Linked DNA regions of Homo sapiens: region 1 is linked to region 2. The links are contacts of gene promoters, found by promoter capture Hi-C in human tissues and cell types (Jung and others, 2019). All regions are on one chromosome and are shown on one strand. The core of a region is centred on a gene start or on the middle of the fragment in contact, and the rest is flanking DNA. Distances in the headings are between cores, read along the strand shown.

Evidence for each region. Contacts are between HindIII fragments. The study calls those that stand out against the background at their distance.
Region 1: a contact is called between a fragment that was not itself captured here and the fragment with the promoter of ZNF843 in region 2, in 1 of the 25 tissues and cell types used here (spleen).

What each region holds. Positions count from the first base shown.
Region 1 is chr16:31,266,087-31,270,837 of GRCh38, forward strand. It overlaps ITGAM (integrin subunit alpha M), which reads left to right. Exons shown (of 30, transcript NM_000632.4): 5 at 1-61. Among named protein-coding and RNA genes, the nearest start is that of ITGAM, 8.5 kb to the left of the region's middle. RefSeq lists an enhancer at 1-167. The HindIII fragment of the contact is 5,038 bases long and covers 1-3,979 here.
Region 2 is chr16:31,441,029-31,445,286 of GRCh38, forward strand. It overlaps ZNF843 (zinc finger protein 843), which reads right to left and starts at 1,761. Exons shown (of 2, transcript NM_001136509.3): 1 at 1,608-1,761. RefSeq lists an enhancer at 1,388-2,183 and a silencer at 1,568-1,777. The HindIII fragment of the contact is 16,324 bases long and covers 1-4,258 here.

The sequences.
Region 1 (4,751 bases), core at 211-2,710, 180 kb before region 2:
TGCTTCCTGTTTGGATCCAACCTACGGCAGCAGCCCCAGAAGTTCCCAGAGGCCCTCCGAGGTGGGTTGCCTTTGGCAGAGGGAACAGATGCGCAGCAAAAGACCAGGGGAGGGGGCAGGACTGAGGTGACGTCTGCTCAAGGTCTGGGCTCTGGGTGCAGAAGAGTGGGGGAACTGGGTCCCATTAGAGTCAGAAGCTAGGGAGGTGCTAGGGTCTTGTACTTTAGGAAAACGCCTTGGCTAGGCACAGTGGCTCATACCTGCAATCCCAAAGCTTTGGGAGCCCAGGAGCTTGAGATCAGCCTGGGCAATGTAGTGAGATCCTGTCTCTAAAAAAAAAAAAAAAAAAAATTAGCTGAGTGTGGTGATGAGCACCTGTAGTCTTAGCTATTTGGAGGCCAAGGTGGGAAGATTGCTTGAGGCCACAAGTTCAAGGCAAGCCTGGGCAACATAGGGAGATCCCCGTCTCTACAAAAAAAAAAAAAAATTAGCCAGGCGTGGTGGCACACACCTGCAGTCCCAGCTACTCAGGAGGATCACTTGAGCCTGGGAAGTTGAAGCTGCAGCAAGTTATGATTGCACCACTGTACTCCAACCTGGGTGACAGAGCAAGACCCTGTCTTTAAAAAATAAGTCCAGGTCACACTGCAGAGGAGGGGATGGTGCAAGGTGTCATTGGCAAGAGGTGGGAATCTTGGGGACCATCCTGGGGGGCGGCCTTCCACACCCCTGTTCCCCAAACCTCTGTTGATTGAGATTCTGAGTGACTGTATGGATTTTTTTTTTTTTTTTTTTTTTTGAGGCAGAGTCTCGCTCTGTCACCCAGGCTGGAGTGCAGTGGCACGATCTTGGCTTACTGCAACCTCTGCCTCCCAGGTTCAAGCGATTCTCCTGCCCCATCTTCCCAAGTAGCTGGGATTACAGGTGCCCGCCACCACACCCGGCTAATTTTTGTATTTTTAGCAGAGACGGGGTTTCACCATGTTGGCCAGGCTGGTCTCGAACTCCTGAGCTCTGGTGATCTGCCCACCTTGGCTTCCCAAAGTGCTGGGAATGAGCCAGGGAATGAGTGGGGGGCATGAGCCACCATGCCTGGCCAGAGTGCGTGGATCTTTCAAGCTGCTTTTTCCCACTGCTTTGTTCGATGGCTATGCCATCTTTTTGCTTGTCTTCATGTTGATTCTGGGACCACAGGCGAATGTTTCTCCCTTGCATTTTTTTTCTTTCTCAAGCCCTGTTCCTCTATATTTCACCCTCCACAGTTAATCCTCCTTCCTCCACAGAGAAAACAAAAGCTTCAGGCATGGACTCCCTCCACTTTCCCCTTCTCTTATTTTATCTTAATAAGCGGTTTTCCAGTCTTCACTGGAATTTGTTGACAAATTCTAAAGGAGCTGTAACACCGCACTTTCTCCTTTTTCTCAAATTTCCATAATGACAGCACTCCTGGCAGTGACTCACTCGTTTTAGAGGAAGACCTGTCTCTCCTCTGTCCCATGACTAAATTCTTCCATATGGGCTTTTGAGAGTCTCTCATGCACCAACTAAGGTGATCACCTATCTTTCTTTTTTCTTTTTTTTTTGGAGACAGGGTCTTGCTCTGTCACCTAAGCTGGAGTGCAGTGGCACAATCTCGGCTCACTGCAGCCTCTGCCTCCTGTGCTCAAGAAATTCTTGTGCCTCCGCCTCCAGAGTAGCTGGGATCACAGGTGCGCATATACTGATTTTTGTATTTTTTGTAGAGATGGGGTTTCACCTTGTTGCCCAGGCTGGTCTCGAATTCCTGGGCTCAAGAGATCTTCCCACCTCAGCCTCCCACAGTGCTGGGATCACAGGTGTGAGCCACTGCGCCTGGCCCAGCATCTCTTGAATCACTTGTTTTCTCTCTAGGACAATTAACTTCCCCCTTCCTCTGGCTGTAAACACTCTTCATTCTATCTGTATCTGAAAAGCAATCAACCACCACAATCGATAGCCATGAAAACAATCTTCTCTCTTCCAGTCTCCTCCTCATCTCCTGCCATCTCTCCTCACCCTCACCACCCAAGCTTCCTGAGTGCATTCTCTTCACCCCCGGCTGGCCTCCAGCTTCCCTCTCCACCTAGGGGCACTGGGTTCTGGGTTCTCTTTTCACCCACGTGTTCTTCTTTCCTGAAATCACCCAGTTCTGTGGCTTCAGCTAACACTTCTACCTCTCCCTCTTTAGACCTCACTCTCAGGGTTCAAGACTACTTCTTTAAAAAAGTTTTCATTTATTAAAAAATATATAATACATACACTTGGTTCAAAATTCGAAAGGGTGCGGTAGCTCACACCTGTAATTCCAGCACTTTGGGAGGTCAAGGCAGGAGGATTGTTTGAGGCCAGGAGTTTGGGACCAGCCTAGACAACATAATGAGACCCCATCTCTACAAAAAATGCAATTAGCCAGGCATGGTGGCGTGTGCCTGTGGTCTTAGCTATTCAGGAGGCCTCCCAAAGTGCTGGGGTTACAGGCATGAGCCACTGTGCCCTGCCAGTCTTTCTAAAATACAAAACAAATCATCTCACTTCCTTTTCTAAGAACCTTCTGTGGCTCCCCATTGCCTACAGATAAAGTCGAGCTCCTTATTGGAGTAGAAAGGCCCTTGCCCGCTGCTCTTTGCTTGATGCCACCGCTGTGTCTCCATCGCCGTCACATACGTTTGTCCCTGTAGTGCTGTTTCCATCAAACGGCATTCCTGGATTCTGCCAGAATCCTTTTGAGGCCCTTGTCCCATATATCAGTAGGAGTCTCAACTGGGACCAAAAGCACATTCCAGTAATGTAACTGCCCAAGGGGTTCACCTTGCTTGCTGCCTAGACAGAGCCGATTCATCAAGACAGCAGAATTGCGATAGAGAAAGAATAATTCACACAGAGCCAGCTATGCAGGGGACCAGAGTTTTATTATCACTCGAATCAGTCTCCTCGAGCATTTGGGGGCAGAGTTTTTGAGGATAACTTGGTAGGTCGCGGGGGAAGCCAGTGAGCTGGGAGTGCTGATTGATCAGGGATGAAATCATCGGGAGTCGGAGCTGTCTTCTTGCGTTCAGTTGGTTCCTGGGTGGGGGCAGCAAGATCGGATGAACCAGTTTATTGATCTGGGCAGTGCCAGCTGATCCATCAAGTGCAAGGTCTGCAAAATATCTCAAGCACTGATTTTAGGAGCAGTTTAGGGAGGGTCAGAATCTTGTAGCCTCCAGCTGCATGACTCCTAAATCATAATTTCTCATCTTGTGGCTAACGTTAGTCCTACAAAGGCAATCTAGTCCCCAGGTAAGAAGGAGGTCTGCTTTGGGAAAGGGCTGTTACGATCTTTGTTTAAACTATAAACTATAAACTATAAACTAAGTGTCTCCCAAAGTTAGCTCAGCCTACACCCAGGAATGAACACGGACAGCTTGGAGGTTAGAAGCAAGATGGAATCAGTTAAGTTAGATCTCTTTCACTGTCTCAGTCATAATTTTGCAAAGGCGGTTTCAGTAAGATTTATTTACAAAGAGGGGGGTTTATTTATAAAGGGAGTAATTATAAAGCTGTGACAGGCCTAAGGGAGCCATCAGGGACTTTCCAAGCCCTGGGCAAGCAGGTCTGTTGCCACCCCTGGGTTTATGGGTTGAGGAGAGGGAGAGCTCACCAGGGTCTGGAGAGAGTCATGTGGAGCTGGCTTCCTTCTGAGGAACAGTTGGTCTTTTGTGAAGGACATAGCTGTCCCCAAACAACCTCAATGGGAGAACACCCGGACCTCACTGCCCTCCTCCCTCTAGTCTTCTGTTGAGCCCCCTCATCTGCCAAATCCAATGGGAATCCAGAGGGCAACAGAGTCCTGGTGATGGGGTCCCTGCAGGTTGACCTCCCAGGCCACAGAGCTGAGCGGCAATGGGTAGAAAGTGGATTTGGGGATGGGGCAGAAGGCAGAGGAGCACATTCCACATCACTTTATATGTGTGTGCCCTTCCCTTTTCTAGAATCTACTCCTTTTGTATATCTGGCAAATCCTTCCTTCCTTCCTTCCTTCCTTCCTCCTTTGCTTTCCTTTCCTTTCCTTTCCTTTCCTTTCCTTTCCTTTCCTTTCCTTTCCTTTTTTTCTTCCTTTCTTCCTTTTCTTCGAAGTCTTGCTCTGTGACCCAGGCTGGAGTGCAGTGGTGCGATCTCAGCTACTTTTTGTATTTTTAATAGAGATAGGGTTTCACCATGTCAGCCAGGCTGGTCTCAAACTCCTGATCTCAAGTGATCCACCTGCCTCAGCCTCCCAAAGTGCTGGGATTACAGGTGTGAGCCACCTCGCCCAGCTGGGCAAATTATTTCCTGTTCTTCAAGATTCAGTCAAACATCACCACATTCCCTGATTCCCTTGGGCAGAATTAACGAAAATTTTCCATACCACTTTGTCCTTGTTTATTTACTTATTTATTTATTTTTAAGAGACAGGGTCTTTCTCTGTGGCCCAGGCTGGAGTGCAATGGCGTGATCATAGCTCACTGAAGCCTCAACCTTTTGGGCTGAAGTGATCCCCCACCCTCAGCCTCCTGAGTAGCTGGGACTACAGGCATGTGCCAACATGCCTGACTAATTTTTAACGTGTGTGTGTGTATATATATATATATATATATATATATATATATATATATATATATGTTTTTAACGTGTGTATACATATATATATATACACACACGTTAAAAATTATATATATATTATACATAATTTATATATATATTTAACATCTATA
Region 2 (4,258 bases), core at 511-3,010:
TGTTTTCCAGTTGGCCTTTTGTGATTTGATTCCCCTCTCTTCCAATGGATGATCTGACACAAGGGCTGTCAAGCATGCTTGTTACTGTAGGGCAGTGCTTACTGTTTTCACAGCATGGAACCCACAGAAAATGTTACAATATGAGTAACTCACAGGGATAAAGGGTTGAGATTGCTCCCTACTGAAGGTGCCCGGCCCAGTGCTTCGGGCCACCCTAGGCCCTACCTACCTTCCTCAGGGGTTAAAGCAGTGGTTCTCAGTGCTAGCTGCACATTAGGATTACCTGGGAGCTTTCAAAATTATTTTGCCTGTGCTGCACCCAGGAGTAACAACATACAGCCAAGGTTAAGAACCTTTTTAGCTAAATGGTTATCTGTTTATCCTCAGTTACCGCCACAGCTTATCCTTCTACTACAGTGCCTCCTGAGTAATGGGCACACCGTACAGTATTATTATTGATTATTATTAGTATTAGAGACAGGCTCTCCCTCTATCATCCAGGCTGGAGTGCAGTGGCACCATCATGGCTCACTGCAGCCTCGACCTCCTGGGCTCAAGCGGTCCTCCCTCAGCCTCCTGAGTAGCTGGGATCACAGGTGTGCACCACCACACCTGGCTAATTTTTTTTTTTTAAATAATTAGTGTAGACAGGATCTCATTGTTGCCTACGCTACTCTCCAACTCTTGGGCTCAAGCGATCCTCCCGCCTTGGCTTCCCGAAGTGCTGGGATTACAGACGTGAGCCGCAGCGCCCGGCAGAATACAGAAGTAATAAACTAAGGTCAAGGCCATGTACTGAGGTGTTCAAGGCTCTGAACTGCTGGACTCAATGTCACAAGATAAATTTTAACCTCACCAAACCCTCTCAGCTTAAGAGTATCTGCTAAGTTCTGAGAAAGCAAACGGGGCGTGTGAAAAGATGGGTGTTCATGCCTGTGTGTATGTGGGGTCGGTGATGCAGTTAAGGACAGAACCCAGGGGAGGACTCCGGGACGGGGGAGGCGGCTGAGATTTTAAGGCGGGCCGGGTGTGCTGCAGCCAGCACTGCCGGAGAATCGCTGGGAAACGGCTCCAGCAGGAGAATGGAGGGTGGACGGCCGGCCGCAAAGGCGGTGGAGGTGTTGGCCCGCCCCTTCCCTCCTGATAACACCGACGTGCGTGTGGGGTCCACGGAACGCCCCACCAAGCCTCGCCTGGCGCGGGGTCGAGGGGCTCGGCGGAGGCGCGTGTTCAGGTGGAGGCGGTGGGCCCGGGCTGCGGCCCTTCGCTCGATTTTATTTATTTATTTATTTATTTATTTATTTATTTTTGAGACGGAGTCTCGCTGTGTTCCCCAGGCTGGAGTGCAGTGGCGAGATCTCGGCTCATTGCAACCCCTGCCTCCCGGGTTCAAGCGATTCTCCTGCCTCAGCCTCCCGAGTAGCTGGGACCACAGGCGTCCGCCACCACGCCCGGCTAATTTTTGCATTTTTAGTAGAGAAGGGATTTCACTATATTGGCCACGCTGGTCTCGAACTCCTGACCTCGTGATCCGCCCGCCTCGGCCTCCCAAAGTGCTGGGATTACGGGCGTGAGCCACCGCGCCCGGCCCCTTCGCTCGCTCTTACCCGGTGAGGTCCCGTGCCCGCGTACCTCCCGCATGACACTTGGGCGTGCGGCCGAGCCGGGAGCGCCCCTGCCCCGCGAGCCGCCCCCGAGAGACACGGCGGATCGGAACCCAGCCGGGCGCGTAGCTCCGGGAAGGGGACGTGGCGAGGACCCGGCAGCCGCGGGGCCTGTGGGGAAACATGGTCCCCGCAAGGGACCCTGGGAGCTGGAGGCGTCCTGGCCCGGCGTCCGGAGCCCACGGCCCAGGACTAGGATGCCGGGGGTCTCGGGCGTCCTCCCTAACCTCAGTCATAGGGCGCTCCGTATCCAGCCCGCCCTGCTTGCCTCTCGCTTCCCCCAAATACTGCCCCGACCTGTCCCCTGGCCCTCACCAAGACAGGGAGAAACGACCGAGACACTGAGGACTCCGCTAACAGCTGCCTGAGACCCAACCCCTCCACTCCCTGACCAGGATGAGGGAGTCCGCGCCATGCGCATGCACACACGCGGGCCTCTCCTCCTCCCACCTTTTGCGCGTCTCGCCCGGGCATCGAAGGAAGGGAATGACGGCGCGACGGCGACCCCTAGGGGCGGGAGGAGGCGCTAGGAGCGGGGCTGGGAAGCGCCATGGTGCAGGTTGAACGGGGACATTGGGTCACCGGGATGGGTGGAATTAGGGTAGGGCGAGTGAGGCACTGGCTTCTGGCACAGAATTTAAGGAGACACCCCAAAATTTAGTAATCAGGATACACAGACTGAGCGCAGTGGCTCACGCCTGTAATCCCAACACTTTGGGAGGCCAAGGCGGGAGGACTGCTTGAGGCCAGGAGTTAGGGATCAGCCTGGGCAACAAAGCGAGACCCCCATCTCTACAAAAAAAAATTAAAATTTAGCCGGACTTGGTGGTGGGCGCCTGTGGTCCCAGCTACTCAGGATGCTTAAGTGGGAGGATCACTTGAGCCCAGGAGGTTGAAGGTGCAGTGAGCTATGGTGACACCTCTGCACTCCAGCCTGGGCAACAGAGCAAGACCATGTCTCTTAAAAAAAAAAAAAAAAAAAAAAAAAGCTAGACGCGGTGGCTCACGCCTGTAATCCCAGCACTTTGGGAGGGCAAGGGTAGTGGATCAGTTGAGGTCAGGAGTTCGAGACCAGCCTGGCCAACATGGTGAAACTAAAAATACAAAAATTATTCTACTAAAAATACAAAAATTAGCCGGGTATGGTGGTGCACACCTGTAATCCCAGCTACTTAGGAGACTGAGGCAGGAGAATCGCTTGAACCCAGGAGGCAGAGGTTGCAGTGTTGCAGAGGTTGCAGATCATGCCACTGCACTCCAGCCTGGGTGAAAGAGTGAAACCCTGTCTCAAAACAACAACAACAACAACAACAACAACAACAACAACAACAACCACCACCACCCAAAGTATATTATATGCACACCCTACTGAGTTTGATTCCTGGTTCCACCAGTTAATAGCTGTGGGAGTTTGGGCAGTTTGGTGAATCTAATCTCTGTATCTCAATTTCTTCATCTGTAACATGGCAATAATAACAGCACCTACTTACCTCATAAGGTTGCTGGGAAGATTCAAGGAGATAAGCCAAGTGAAGAGCTTAGCACAATGTCTGGCACATGGTGAGTGTTCAGTGAATGTTAGTCAGTTGGTGGCTATGGCAGCCATCTGCTGAGATAGTTCCCAGTGATCCTACTCCTGGTGTTCACACCCTTTTTAGTCCCTTCCCACAATGCACCAGGGTTGGTCTATGTGACCTGTGGAATACTATAGGAGTTTCTTTCTTTCTCTCTTTCTCTCATTCTCTTTCTTTCTTTCCTCTCTCTTTCTTTCTTTTTTTGACAGAGTCTTGCTCTATCACCCAGGCTGGAGTGCAGTGGCACGATCTCGGCTCACTGCAACCTCTGCCTCCTGGGTTCAAGTGATTCTCGTGCCTCAGCCTCCCAAGTAGCTGGGATTACACACACGGCCACCACACCTGGCTAAATTTTGTATTTTTAATAGAGATGGGGTTTTGCCATGTTGGCCAGGCTGGTCTCGAACTCCTGACCTTAGGTGATCCACCCACCTCAGCCTCCCAAAGTGCTGGGATTACATGCATGAGCCACCGTACCTGGCAAGAATTACTTATAATTAGGTTATAAAAGTCATGACAGTGAAAACCTCCCAACTTATTCTGAGGCCAGTATTACCCTACTATCAAAATCAGACAAAGACATCACAAGAAAACTAGAGACTAATATCTCTTATGAATATAGACATAAAAATCCTCAAGAAAATACCGGCAAATAAAATTCAGAAATATATAAAAAGGATAACCAGGTGGGATTTATCCCAGGAATGTACGGTTAGCTTAACTTATGAAAATAAATTAATACACTACATCAATACAATAAAGGAAAACATTATTATTTCAATTGGTGTAAAAACAGCATTTGACAAAATTCAGCACCCTTCATCATAAAAATACTCAGCAAACTAGGAATAGAAGGAAACTCAATTAACGTGATAAAGGGCATCTATGAAAAAACCCACTGCCAACATCATACTCAATGGTGAGAGAATAAAAGCTTTTCCTCTAAGATCAGAAACAAGAAAGGGATGCCCACTTTTGCCACATCTATTCAGCCTTGTACTGGAAGCTCTCACCAGTTCT